4 separate regions of the Homo sapiens genome follow, and all the other regions are linked to region 2. Evidence: promoter capture Hi-C in 16 types of primary human blood cells and fetal thymus (Javierre and others, 2016). All regions are on one chromosome and are shown on one strand. The core of a region is centred on a gene start or on the middle of the fragment in contact, and the rest is flanking DNA. Distances in the headings are between cores, read along the strand shown. Region 1 overlaps ZFC3H1 (zinc finger C3H1-type containing). Region 2 holds the start of CCDC59 (coiled-coil domain containing 59). Region 3 overlaps THAP2 (THAP domain containing 2). Region 4 holds the start of TBC1D15 (TBC1 domain family member 15).

What was found. Contacts are between HindIII fragments. The CHiCAGO score rates a contact against its expected background, and 5 or more counts as called.
Region 1: a contact is called between a fragment that was not itself captured here and the fragment with the promoter of CCDC59 in region 2, in 3 of 17 cell types (total B cells, fetal thymus and total CD4 T cells). The highest score is 7.5, in total B cells.
Region 3: a contact is called between a fragment that was not itself captured here and the fragment with the promoter of CCDC59 in region 2, in 1 of 17 cell types (total B cells). The highest score is 7.1, in total B cells.
Region 4: the fragment with the promoter of TBC1D15 here is called in contact with the fragment with the promoter of CCDC59 in region 2 in 1 of 17 cell types (total CD4 T cells); the score reaches 5.6 in total CD4 T cells.

The regions. Positions count from the first base shown.
Region 1 is chr12:71,660,106-71,663,080 of GRCh38, forward strand. ZFC3H1 (zinc finger C3H1-type containing) reads right to left here. Exons shown (of 35, transcript NM_144982.5): 1 at 2,908-2,975. Among named protein-coding and RNA genes, the nearest start is that of ZFC3H1, 2.3 kb to the right of the region's middle. The HindIII fragment of the contact is 2,219 bases long and covers 462-2,680 here.
Region 2 is chr12:82,356,967-82,359,687 of GRCh38, forward strand. CCDC59 (coiled-coil domain containing 59) reads right to left here and starts at 1,421. Exons shown (of 4, transcript NM_014167.5): 1 at 1,257-1,421; 2 at 1-303. The coding sequence starts at 1,410. It overlaps METTL25 (methyltransferase like 25), which reads left to right and starts at 1,563. Exons shown (of 12, transcript NM_032230.3): 1 at 1,563-1,858. The coding sequence starts at 1,600. RefSeq lists enhancers at 1,230-1,790, 1,301-1,860, 1,791-2,351. The HindIII fragment of the contact is 1,548 bases long and covers 1,186-2,721 here.
Region 3 is chr12:71,679,830-71,682,762 of GRCh38, forward strand. THAP2 (THAP domain containing 2) reads left to right here. Exons shown (of 3, transcript NM_031435.4): 3 at 1-815. The region is part of intron 1 of LOC124902965 (a long non-coding RNA gene); the gene reads right to left. Among named protein-coding and RNA genes, the nearest start is that of TMEM19, 4.8 kb to the right of the region's middle. The HindIII fragment of the contact is 5,054 bases long and covers 1-2,933 here.
Region 4 is chr12:71,838,457-71,841,302 of GRCh38, forward strand. It overlaps TBC1D15 (TBC1 domain family member 15), which reads left to right and starts at 1,303. Exons shown (of 17, transcript NM_001146213.3): 1 at 1,303-1,355. The coding sequence starts at 1,326. The HindIII fragment of the contact is 6,842 bases long and covers 1-2,846 here.

The DNA of each region.
Region 1 (2,975 bases), core at 321-2,820, about 11 Mb before region 2:
TACTTTACTTCTAAATTACAGAAATATGCCACAGAGTAACCTGCATTCTTTCTTTATACAGTATTTGTAAAATAAAAAAGGTATTATTATAATCACATAGTGGAAATATGAATTAAACTGAGTACAACCTTGATATTAAATAAATTTGAATGAAGTGTTGTAACAAATATTTTGTTTGCTCACATTATATAAAAGTAGCTGGGAACTACGTTTTCCTTCTCAAATTCTTAAAAAGAACACCACCTCTAGGATGGATTACTGATACTTCATAGGGAAAACAATGAGCAGGACATCAAAACAAGCATCCTTTTAAGTGCAGCATCTGTGAAAAGAAAAACAACAAGATATCTTATTTATGACAAGTTACTACGGAAATCAAAGTCACACAAGCAGACTGGATATTTTCTGGTACTTTTTTTTTTTTGCAACATCATATGCCAGTTTACTAATAAAAACATGCAAGCTTACCAATTAATAAAGGTCTATGGTAGAGGCCCAAAATAGTATTGAATAAACACGCAGAAAGAGGACAAAAGCAGAAAGCCCACTCACCTCCCCCTTTTCTAATACAGAATAAAAATTTTAAGAAAAACCTTTGAGCTCCCATAGTACTTTTTTATATACATACTTCAGTTTCAACTTTTTATACTAAACTGCAACTACTTATTTTCATTTGTTTCCCTAATACAAACTACAGGTTTCATCTTTGTACCTTTAAAAAACACATATAAACTGGTGGCTCTCGCCTATAAATCCCAGCACTTTGGGAGTCTAAGGAAGGAGGATCTCTTGAAGCTACAAGTTCAAGATCAGCCTGGGCAACATAGCAAGACTTCGTCTCCCCAAAAAAAAATTTTTTTAAATAAATTTAATAAAAATTTTTTTTAATTAAAAAAATTTAAAAACCATCCACATTGGCTGGGCACGGTGGCTCATGCCTGTAATCCCAGCACTTTGGGAGGCCGAGGTGGGCGGATCACGGAGTCAGGAGATCGAGACCATCCTGGCTAACATGATGAAACCCTGTCTCTACTAAAAATATAAAAAATTAGCCGGGCGTGGTGGCGGGCGCCTGTAGTCCCAGCTACTCGGGAGACTGAGGCCGAATGGCGTGAACCCGGGAGGCGGAGCTTGCAGTGAGCCGAGATCACACCACTGCACTCCAGCCTGGGCGACAGAGCGAGACTCTGTCTCAAAAATAAATAAATAAATAAATAAAAACCATACACATATATATGCTTAAATAGCCTTTCTGGCTTTTGGATTCAAAATAGACCACAAATCCATGGATTAAGAAACACCGTGGGCAGAGGTTTTCTAACCTTCTTGGAAGAACCATTTGCTGGCTTTTAAAAAGTTAAATATCTATATAATTTTCCTTTTTTTTTTTTTTTTGAAACGGAGTCTCGCTTTACCGCCCAGGATGGAGTGCAGTGGTGCAATCTCTGCTCACTACAACTCTGCCTCCCGAGTTCAATCGGTTCTCCTGCCTCAGCCTCCCGGGTAGCTGGAAATACAAGCACCCAACACCACGCCTGGCTAACTTTTTTATTTTTAGTAGAGACAAGGTTTCACCATGTTGGCCAAGCTGGTCTGGAACTCCTGATCTCAAGTGATCCACCGCCTCGGCCTCTCAAAGTGTTGGGATTACAGGCGTGAGCCACCACGCCTGGCGCCTACATGATTTTCTCCGAAACAATCCTGAAATACTCCTAACCCAACTTTTGGTTGCAGAAGTAAGGTTTTTCAGGGAACTAGCATCAGAAGCTGCTGTTTCTCACCTAAATGTACATTCCTTGCCCCTTTTACATCATGACATTTGAGAAAGACCTATTCTGGACCTAAGTGTTCTATAAAAGTAATTCTGATTGTCTTCCAAATAACTGTCATTACTTTTAAGTTTCATATATAATAACGAAATTAAAAATCATCACACTATGTGAATTACAACCAGTAATGAAAGTCTTTAAACAATTTTTGCAATGATCACAGATTAAGTCAAGATAGTGTTTTACAAACCCATTATAAAACAGGAAACCTTCGGATGATTGATTCCTCTGTATAAATGCTGAGTAAACTCAGTAATGTTTAAAACTGAGAATAAGGTTAGAAGTAGGAAAAATCTGGAATGTTACTATTTCCTTTCTCAACTTACCCGTAATCTCCACCCTCGCATACACATTCCTCCACTCTAACGTATTAAAATAAAAATGCTGATAAGTTTATCTTTCTCTCTCTGGCCCTCATTTAGTCAGCACGAAGTTACACAATGTGCAAAAGTGAACACAGATAGAAACGTAAAGGAGGTAAAGTGTTCCAAAAAGATCAAATGAATCAAAAAGCTCTGAAACAGACTTGGTAAAGACACCAGAGTTGTTTTTTTTTTACCCCTCCCCCCCCCACTTTAAAAGGCAGCAACCGGAATAAATCAAGATAAAAACAGAATCACAAAAATAGTGCAGGACTGTGCAGATTAAAACTTTACAATTTTCAACGTCAAACTGCAATATGATAAAGCAACAATATTACTTAAACTGTTTATGAATATTTTTTCTCTAACAATCCAAGTCAACTTCATATAAAACACAAAGTTTCTGTACCAGCAAAAATACAAATGCTAATGAAACTTGGGCTTCTAAGGTATTATTACAAATCAGACTTAACTGTCTTAGATTTCATAAGCTTAACCCAATCCACAGCACGTTAATATACCCAATGAAGCAGTCTTAAGAATAACGCTATAGTGTGACACATGGGGAATTACCAAAGAACAACTTAAAGTATACTGACACAGGGAGAAATAAGCGGTTCTGATGATTCAAAGTTACACTCGTCTCACAGACCTAGTAATGACGCTAAAGGGAACTTTAGTGACACACCCAGCGCCGACCGCCACGTTAAGGATACAGCTCTTCCGAGGTGGAGAGGGCTCTCGCCAGCTCTGACTGCTGCTGAACCCGGATCCTGCTCCTCCT
Region 2 (2,721 bases), core at 171-2,670:
TTTTAATACATTGTTCTTCTGGCTGAGGCTGGTCAAAGCTACACTGATCTTCAAATAAAGGCTCGTCAATGCTACACTGTTCTTCAAGCAACGGCTGGTGAACTTGTTCTGACAAAGGATGGTCGACTTTTCTTGCTTGCTTCCTATGTCTTTCCTCTTCAGCTAAATAGAGATGTTTCAGATTATCTGGGTATCGATCTGTGAATTGAGATTCCAGTGACGTTTGAGCCTTCTTTTCCTTCCGTAGCAATTTCTTGTAACTTTGCTGTATTTTCAGTTTTCTTCGAAAAGCAAAGCCTTGTCCTACATTGAGGAATATCATCCAAAATTACTTTCAGAGAAAAGAAGTTGAACGAAGAATGGAGCTGTTAATTACAAATGAAAACTTTTTTTACGTCATCACATTCAGATTCTAGTATTATATTTTGCTTTAAAAAATTATTTCAAGCAACAAATTTAAGCTGATGGATTGCATAGTAAGTTGGCCCTTTGCAAAAAGACCAGGCTAACAGTCATGCGGAAATCCAAGTAAGAATCTCAAAGAAAAACTGACCAGTTCAGACTGTTGCACAACTTGAGTTTACAGCTGTATTCACAAATCAAAACAAATTCCTTAGTTCATCTAAAACACTTAATCTGAGCCTTCAATAAATGCTTAAAAAATAGGAAAGAAAATGCCACATCTAGTATCTTGGACAAACTACATGTTTTCGAAAATGTTTCAACACGAAAGAAAAAGACAGTGTATGGTTGTCTGAAAAGCTAGCAATTATCGGAAGACTGAATTTAACATTTATATATTCCAAGTGGGATCTAAGAGACCTTACAGACAGCAATACAAAATGACAAACACAAATTAAAGCGAAGGCTGGAGGGCCTCGGGTATTTGTAATAAGGAAGAATTCGGAGCAGTGTTTCTGGCCCTGTCCTCCTCTCTATCCTTTACCTTACCACATGCGCAAGAGTTCACAGGGTCATAGACTCTCTCTGCTCAGTTTCTCAGGAAAAATATAGGAAAAAAGTTCTGATGAAATACAGGGTTACGTCAGAAAAGACGTTTAAATAATAGCAACACTGCTCCGTCTTCCTATCTAGAGCTCTGCGAAGCTCACAGCTTTAGCGGGCTCAGGAATGAATTCCCTTGCCCCAAGTAGGACCGGGTCTGGTTCCTAAATCCTTCTTCCAAGCTTCAGCGAATCTTATATCCTAAAACTTAGCAAGCCTGAGGATTTGCAAATGGTTGCCTTCTTACATACCCTCGCGAACGCTCCCCACGAAGGCTTGCGGGTGGTTAGGCCGCCATGTCTTCTGTCTCACATTCTTATTCCTGTACCCGACAGTGGAAACCCCTTCACCACGCGCCTCAATACCACCAGGCCGCCACTTCGCGGACCGCCTCACCGGCGCCATTGCAGCCGACTAACTGCGTCATCAGAAGACCACGACGGACGCCCACAAAATACGTCACCAAGCCGAAGCAATCAATCGCTCAGAAGGAATCCGGCTCGGAGCTCTACTGAGCCTGCCTGTGCTAATTTGGGCCGAGCTGGCGCCTCACGGCCATGTTTGCGCCACCTACAGCCTCGGAGGGTGAGCGTCATGGCGGCTTCTTGCCCTCTCCCGGTGACCCCGGACCTGCCCACGCTGCGTGCCAAGTTGCAGGGACTGCTGCAGTTCCTGAGGGATGCCCTGTCCATTTCCAATGCACATACCGTGGATTTCTACACAGAATCCGTGTGGGAGGAGCTGGTCGACTTGCCACCGGAGACAGTGCTGGCTGCGCTGAGGAAGTCAGCGTCGGAGACGGAGGCCCTGCCCTCAGAGACGCGCCCCCTAGTGGAAGCAGAGTGGGAAGCAGGTGGGTGGTGGGGTAGGCGGGGCGGGAAGGGAGGCGGAGGAGAAGGTCCCGGCAGACGAAGCGAGCCCCCTGGTGGAAGCCAGCAGAACCAGGTGCGTGGCGGCGGAGGCGGGGCGGCCCGCTGGGAAACCGAGGAGGGGTCGGATTAGTTGAGGGGTGGGGTGGGGATGTTCTTTGGAATCAGGATCACTCTTTCTTTGGGTGCTTGTGTATGTCCACAATTTAAAGAAAGCAGGAAACAGGGCAGGGGAGTTCCTTCATCTAGTAATTCCATAATAATTGACGCTAGGGAAACTAGGGGAGCAGTGCTCTCACAGGTTTTATAAATGCCAGCATGTGGTGGAAGATTACTCAACAGTTAATAAAGATAATTTCAAGTGGTGGTAATGAAGTAGAAAATAAAAACAGTGTAATGTGGTAGGGATTGTGTAAGGAGGCTGCCTCAATTTAGGAGGTCAGGAACATGAGAAGGCACTAGCTGCAGAGCCACAGGGAGGGGTTGCAGGCGGTGGGAACCGCAGGCTAGGCTTGGCTCTAGCCAGGTGAGGGGCTGCAGGTGCAGGACGGGAGGCAAGCAGAGGCCAGATGGCACAGGCCTTTCTAGGCCTTGGAAGGATTTTGGATTTTAAGTGTGACGGAAACCCTTGGGATTATTTAGGCAACATAGTGACCTAATTCACATTTGAAAAGATAACTGTGAATTATTTGAAGAATAGACTAGGGCAAAAGCTGAAGCTGAGAGGCCAGTTAGGAGACTACCTCAGTAGTACAACAGATGATTGTATCTTGGACTAGGATGGTATTCGGATAGTCACTATTTCATTTAAAAACTATTTTAAAGTACCTAATATGTGTCTTGAATT
Region 3 (2,933 bases), core at 25-2,524, about 11 Mb before region 2:
CAAAGGAGGTACAAGGACATTGGCATTTGACCTGAATTATGGTGTTTTATTGAATGAGCTATAAGACAACATTTTTACCCTTTAAAATGAACACTGAACAAATGTGTTAATGGTATCTTTGTTAAAAGGAAAACATAGCTATAAATAAAATACTACATCGAAATCCAGCACTGGAGTTCATTTGAAATTTGATATTTTGTGTAAAATAACAAACCTATTAACACAGATTTTTAAAATAACTCAGAATCGTATAAAGCACTTTGGTACTTATTTGTTCTCTTTTCCCTTACATTCTGTGTGGTAGGTGGTATTATCTCTGATTTACACATGAAGACATCCTTGTTAATGCAATTTATTTATTCATTCGGGCATTTACTGTGTGCCAACTTGCAAAAGGAATAGAAATGTCTGTGATCTAGATAGTTCTAGATTGAACATAGATTTTCTGCCAACAAATCCTCTCTGCTGTTCACATTATCCTTTGTTTAACGTATGAACCAGGTTACTAAAATAGGATAAATCATGTGTCTTAAAATATGAAAATAGTAAAGTCTTTGAGGTCACTTGATCTTCTCTAAGTAGACTTTATAATATTGTGTTTTATCTCATTTCTCAATATTAGAATACGGGTAGATTTTAATTTTGCTATAATATAGGAAATGGTTCATCTTTGTACCAAAATATTGCATTCTTCTGATATTTAGACAGTTGGAAACTTTCTAAAATTGAGGATTTTGTAGTGTATACTAAATAATTGCATATTCAAAAAAATGTATTCTGAGTATGGTGATATTAAACATTTTTCCCCAAGGAAATTACTGTCATGCCTGTTATTTCTAAAAAATGTACATAAATATTTCTGTGAAAGTTCTTTTACATTGACCCCCTGAAAGACTTCTGTGAAGTCCTTCTCCCTAAACTGAAGCAAATGGTAGAACAAAGATAATGTAAAGCCTTGAAGAGAAATTATTTTCATTTTTGTTGCTCACATTATATCTAAATGTACATTATAGTTTATTTGCACTGTTTCAGATAATAGGCAATCTAGACAAGATATATGAACGGCTATGAAAATGGTAACAGTCTATCTCTATCCTGACCATAATTTGAGGCTCACACAAAAATGTATTTGCAGGCTAGGTACAGGAGTTCATGCCTGTAATCCCAGCATGTTGTGGGGCTAAGGCGGGTGGATCACTTAAGGCCAGGAGTTTAAGACCAGCCTGGGCAACTTAGCGAGACACCCATCTCTACAAAAATAATGAAATAAAAATTAGCCAGGCACAGAGGCATGTGGCTGTAGTACCCTAGCTACTCAGGAGGCTGAGGCAGAAGGACTGCTTGAGCCCAGGAGTTCAAGGCTGCAGTGACTCTGATCGCACCACTGCACTTCATCCTGGGCAACAGAGTGCAACCCTGTCTCTTTAAAAAAAAAAAAAAAAAAGCATACATTATCAAAGCACTATCTTACTAACAAAAGGGAAAGATTGTAATATTTTATTAATTTCTTCTGATTAAAATATTGTTTTGGGCTGGGCGCAGTGGCTCACTCCTGTAATCCCAGCACTTTGGGAGGCCAAGGTGGGCGGATCACAAGGTCAGGAGTTCCAGACCAGCCTGGCCAACATAGTGAAACTCCGTCTCTGCTAAAAAAAAAATACAAAAAATAAGCCAGGCGTGATGGTGGGTGCCTGTAATCCCAGCTACTCAGGAGGCTGAGGCAGGAGAATCGCTTGAACCAGGGGAGGCAGAGGTTCGCAGTGAGCCGGAAATTGTGCCATTGCACTTCCAGCCCAGGCAATAGTGTGAGACTGTTTAAAAAAAAAAAAAAAAAAAAAAAAAAAAAAAAAAAAAAAACTTGTTTCGAATACTGTAATTCAAAAAATGCTATCTTTTTTATTTTTATTTTTATTTTTTTTGAGATGGATTTTCGCTCTGGTTGCCCAGGCTGGAGTGCAATGGCGCAATCTCGGCTCACCACAACCTCTACCTCCCGGGTTCAAGTGATTCTCCTGCCTCAGCCTCCTGAGTAGCTGGGATCACAGGCATGTGCCACCATGCCCAGCTAATTTTGTATTTTTAGTAGAGACATGGTTTCTCCATGTTGATCAGGCTGGTCTGGAACTCCCAACCTCAGGTGATCCGCCCGTCTTGGCCTCCCAAAGTGCTGGGATTATAGGCGTGAGCCACCGTACCCAGCCCAAAAAATACTATCTTAACACTCATTAAGAGACACTGATCAAACTAGGATGTGCCAGACAGACATGGTGTCCGTCCTCAAGGTTACTGGAAAACAGTATTCCATTTCTTTATTCCTGCCCTCAATTGCTCCCCACCCTCTCCCTAAGGCCCTTTTAGAATGAGCTCAACCTAATACAACAAATCCATCTTCAAATTGCTCCCTAGTCTTTTAAAATCTATACTACAAACATTTAAAAAACAAAATATTCGGGTTTAATGTCAAGAAGGCATATACTGGTTGGATGCAGTGGCTCACACCTGTAATCCCAACACTTTGGAAGGCCAAGGCAAGAGGATCACTTATAGCCAGGAGTTTGGGACCAGTCTGGACAACACAGTGAGACCTCACCTCTATTTTTATATTAAAAATTTTTTAAAAGAGGTGTCTATTTCTCAGATGAATTTTCAGTTTAATAAATTATTTAGCAAACACTCCAAAATGTGTTATTTCTAACTCTTCTCCATTCTCTTGAACTTCCTATTTTCATGTTCTTTTTAACCACCAAACAAACCTTTACAAATTGCCCTTGTTTAGCTTAGTCACTGAGCAAACTCTTTGTCATCTTTCAATTCTTACCTTGGATGCTCCCCTCTCTTGTGTGACACCATCCCTAAACATACCAGAGTGACATAAGTGCTTTTCTCCTTGAGTCCTGTTTATATATGACTTGGATAAAGTCATCATCTTTTTA
Region 4 (2,846 bases), core at 53-2,552, about 11 Mb before region 2:
ACCAAACTCAAAAGCCTCTAACCCCTCTCCACTGTGTGAAGACGGAAGTACCTCAATGGACACAAGTGTTTTTGGTGAAAGGGACTTTTTATTCTGCCCCGGAGCTAGGGAAATCCCAGATCTGTGCCAGAGTTATCAAGGGGGTAGTATATAATCATTCTCTGCATTCTTTTACAGCACTGAGAACAAGTAAAATTCTTACCTTAGTATCTTTACAAATCATTTTACCACACATGTATTGTCGTATGAAATCCCTACAACCACTCCATGCAGGAGTAATTCCCAGTTTACATCCTGAAGCTCTGATAAATTTAGAAACCTGCTTTAAGTCACAGAGCTAATAAGTAATGTGTAGGTGCTATAAACTATGTGCCTTGGGCTCTGCAGCTATGAGGGCGTGGTATTATCACAGTTCCTATCGAAATACCTTGCTGGAGGTCATGTGTGAGTGGCAGTGACCAGACAAATAGAGAAACCTCATATACAGAGGGGAAAAGTCTCCATGTATAGTGCCTGGGATATCTCCATGTTAGTGCTGCTCTTTCTTGGATCTTCACCGCAACGCCACTATCTTGATTTTACTATAAGAAACTGAGGTTTCGAGTGCACTGGTGATTTGCCTACTGCCACAAAACCAGGCTAATGGGCTGGGCGCGGTGGCTCAAGCCTGTAATCCCAGCTCTCTGGGCAAAGGCTGAAGCGGACGGATCACCTGAAGTCAGGAGTTCGAGACCAGCCTGGGCAACATTGGCGAAATCTCGTCTCTAATAAAAATTTAAAAATTAGCTGGGCGTTTGACGCGCGCCTGTAATCCCAGCTACCCGGGAGGCTGAGGCTTGAGAATCGCTTGAACCGAGTGGCGGAGGCTGCAATGAGCCGAGATCGCGCCACTGCACTCCAGCCTGAGCGACAGAGCGAGACTCCTTTTCTACAACAACAACAAAAAACCAGGACAAATCTTGCTGGCTTCCAGTATGGTATTCGTTTCATCTCACCAAACTGGCGTGGCCTGCGCTAGCTTCAGAGTCTCGACAAACTCCAATACAAGTAAGGTACACATTATTTTAGCAGTCTTCCTTGGGGAGGACGTGGGGCAAGCACAAGCGTAGCGTTAGGCCTGAGACTCCACCCCAGCCGTCTCTGAGCCCAGTTCAGCACGCACGCGTCAGGCGGCTTTTTTCCGCCCGGCTCCTTTCCTCCACTCCCTTCCCGCCACTCCCCGCCCTTTTCCCGCCCGGATGTTATTCTAGTTTTGCCGGATGTTGTTGTATGTCCGAGAGACACGTGAGGTTCTGCTACGTCATTACCAGGCACGCGCAGGAAACATGGCGGCGGCGGGTGTTGTGAGCGGGAAGGTAGGTAACGGCCTCCAGGAAGACCTCGGCTTTTCTCTGGGACGGGGATGCTTTTGCTCCCTGGCAGCTGGTTGGGGGAGGGACACGAGGGACTTTCTGTGTCCGGACAACCCGTGGCGTCTGTAGGAGAAGACTGGGTGGTACCAGCTGGTTTCCCGAGAATGCCAGTTCAGCCGCGGAGTTATAGAGCCGGCTACTGCTCCAAGGCCAGCTAGGCCTCGGCGCTCTTCTGCCCCAGAGCAGAGAGGCTTTTATTCGTATTACCTTTACTAAGGGACAGGTGGCTCTCTAGTTCCTTTTTTCCCCCGATTCACTGTTTCTTGACTCTAGTTCTTTATGTCTACTCTTCTGACTCCAGCGTCTTTTCTCTCTTTGAAGCGTTAACCCGACTTGCCTCTGTCTTCTTTGCTACAGTTTGGTGAAGATGTTTATGCTTCCTTCGGGAGGAGCTGAATAGATGCTAGGCAGCTAGCTGTGCGCTTAGAAGAAACGAGTGTATTGGGTCTGTTTTTACCAAGCTGCTGAGTTGGTTGGTGGTTGTGAGCAGCAGGACGTGTTTCCTGAGAGAAATGGAGATTTACACCATCCTGTGCTTGTCTAGGAAGGCGTCCAAATATTTATTTCCTAGGCATTTCAGTAGGAGTATTGGTCATGCTGGTTTACGGAGGTGGTCAGTGACACGCCTAATTTCGTTGGAAACTAGAATTACGTGCGGAGATTTCGTCGAATAGTGCCTATTCGCGTTCCGAGGGCACATCTTATGCATAGTTAGGGCTATCAGCTTTATGATATGCCACCGATAGTATTTCCCAGTGCAGGAGTATTTCATAAACAGCTGGAATCAACTGAAGTGACTCATCGAACACTAATGGTTGTTTACTCATTGCAGATAGCGTCCTCTGTTCCTTGAGTTTCACTCATGTCTCCCTGTTGCTTTCCCTACCCCATTTTGAATTATTTGACAGCGTTTGTGGTTTGGTGTTTGGAGTATTAGACTAGGCGGCTGAATGACAAATATGGGCTTGGTTTTGCTGTTAATCTGAAGTATGACCTTGGAAAATTGGGCAATTGTGACTTTTGTCTTTTCGCGTTCTTTATCTGTAGAATGGAGGAGATGCCAATCATTATTTCTTGTATTGGAGTTGTTAGGGTTATATAAATTTTTTTTTAAAAAAACATAAAATTACACACTTGTACCTACTGGCTCTTTTAAAGGATAGGTGGGCATCCTTTTTTGGATTATTCGTGCTCCTTGGTTGTCTTGTCAGTTTTTTTCTTTTTATATTCAGGGTGGATGCTGATATACTGCTTGACTTACTGCGTATTTGAAGATTATCCTGTTTGATTTTCCATCTAAACTGATCCAGGCTGGGACTTTTCAAGAGGGGATCCCTTCCGTTTAAACATCTCCCTCTTTCAGGTTTGGATTGATTTTGAAAGAATCCTTGAGGCAATGAAGCAGAGTTGTGAAATGAAAAACATTTTTCACTC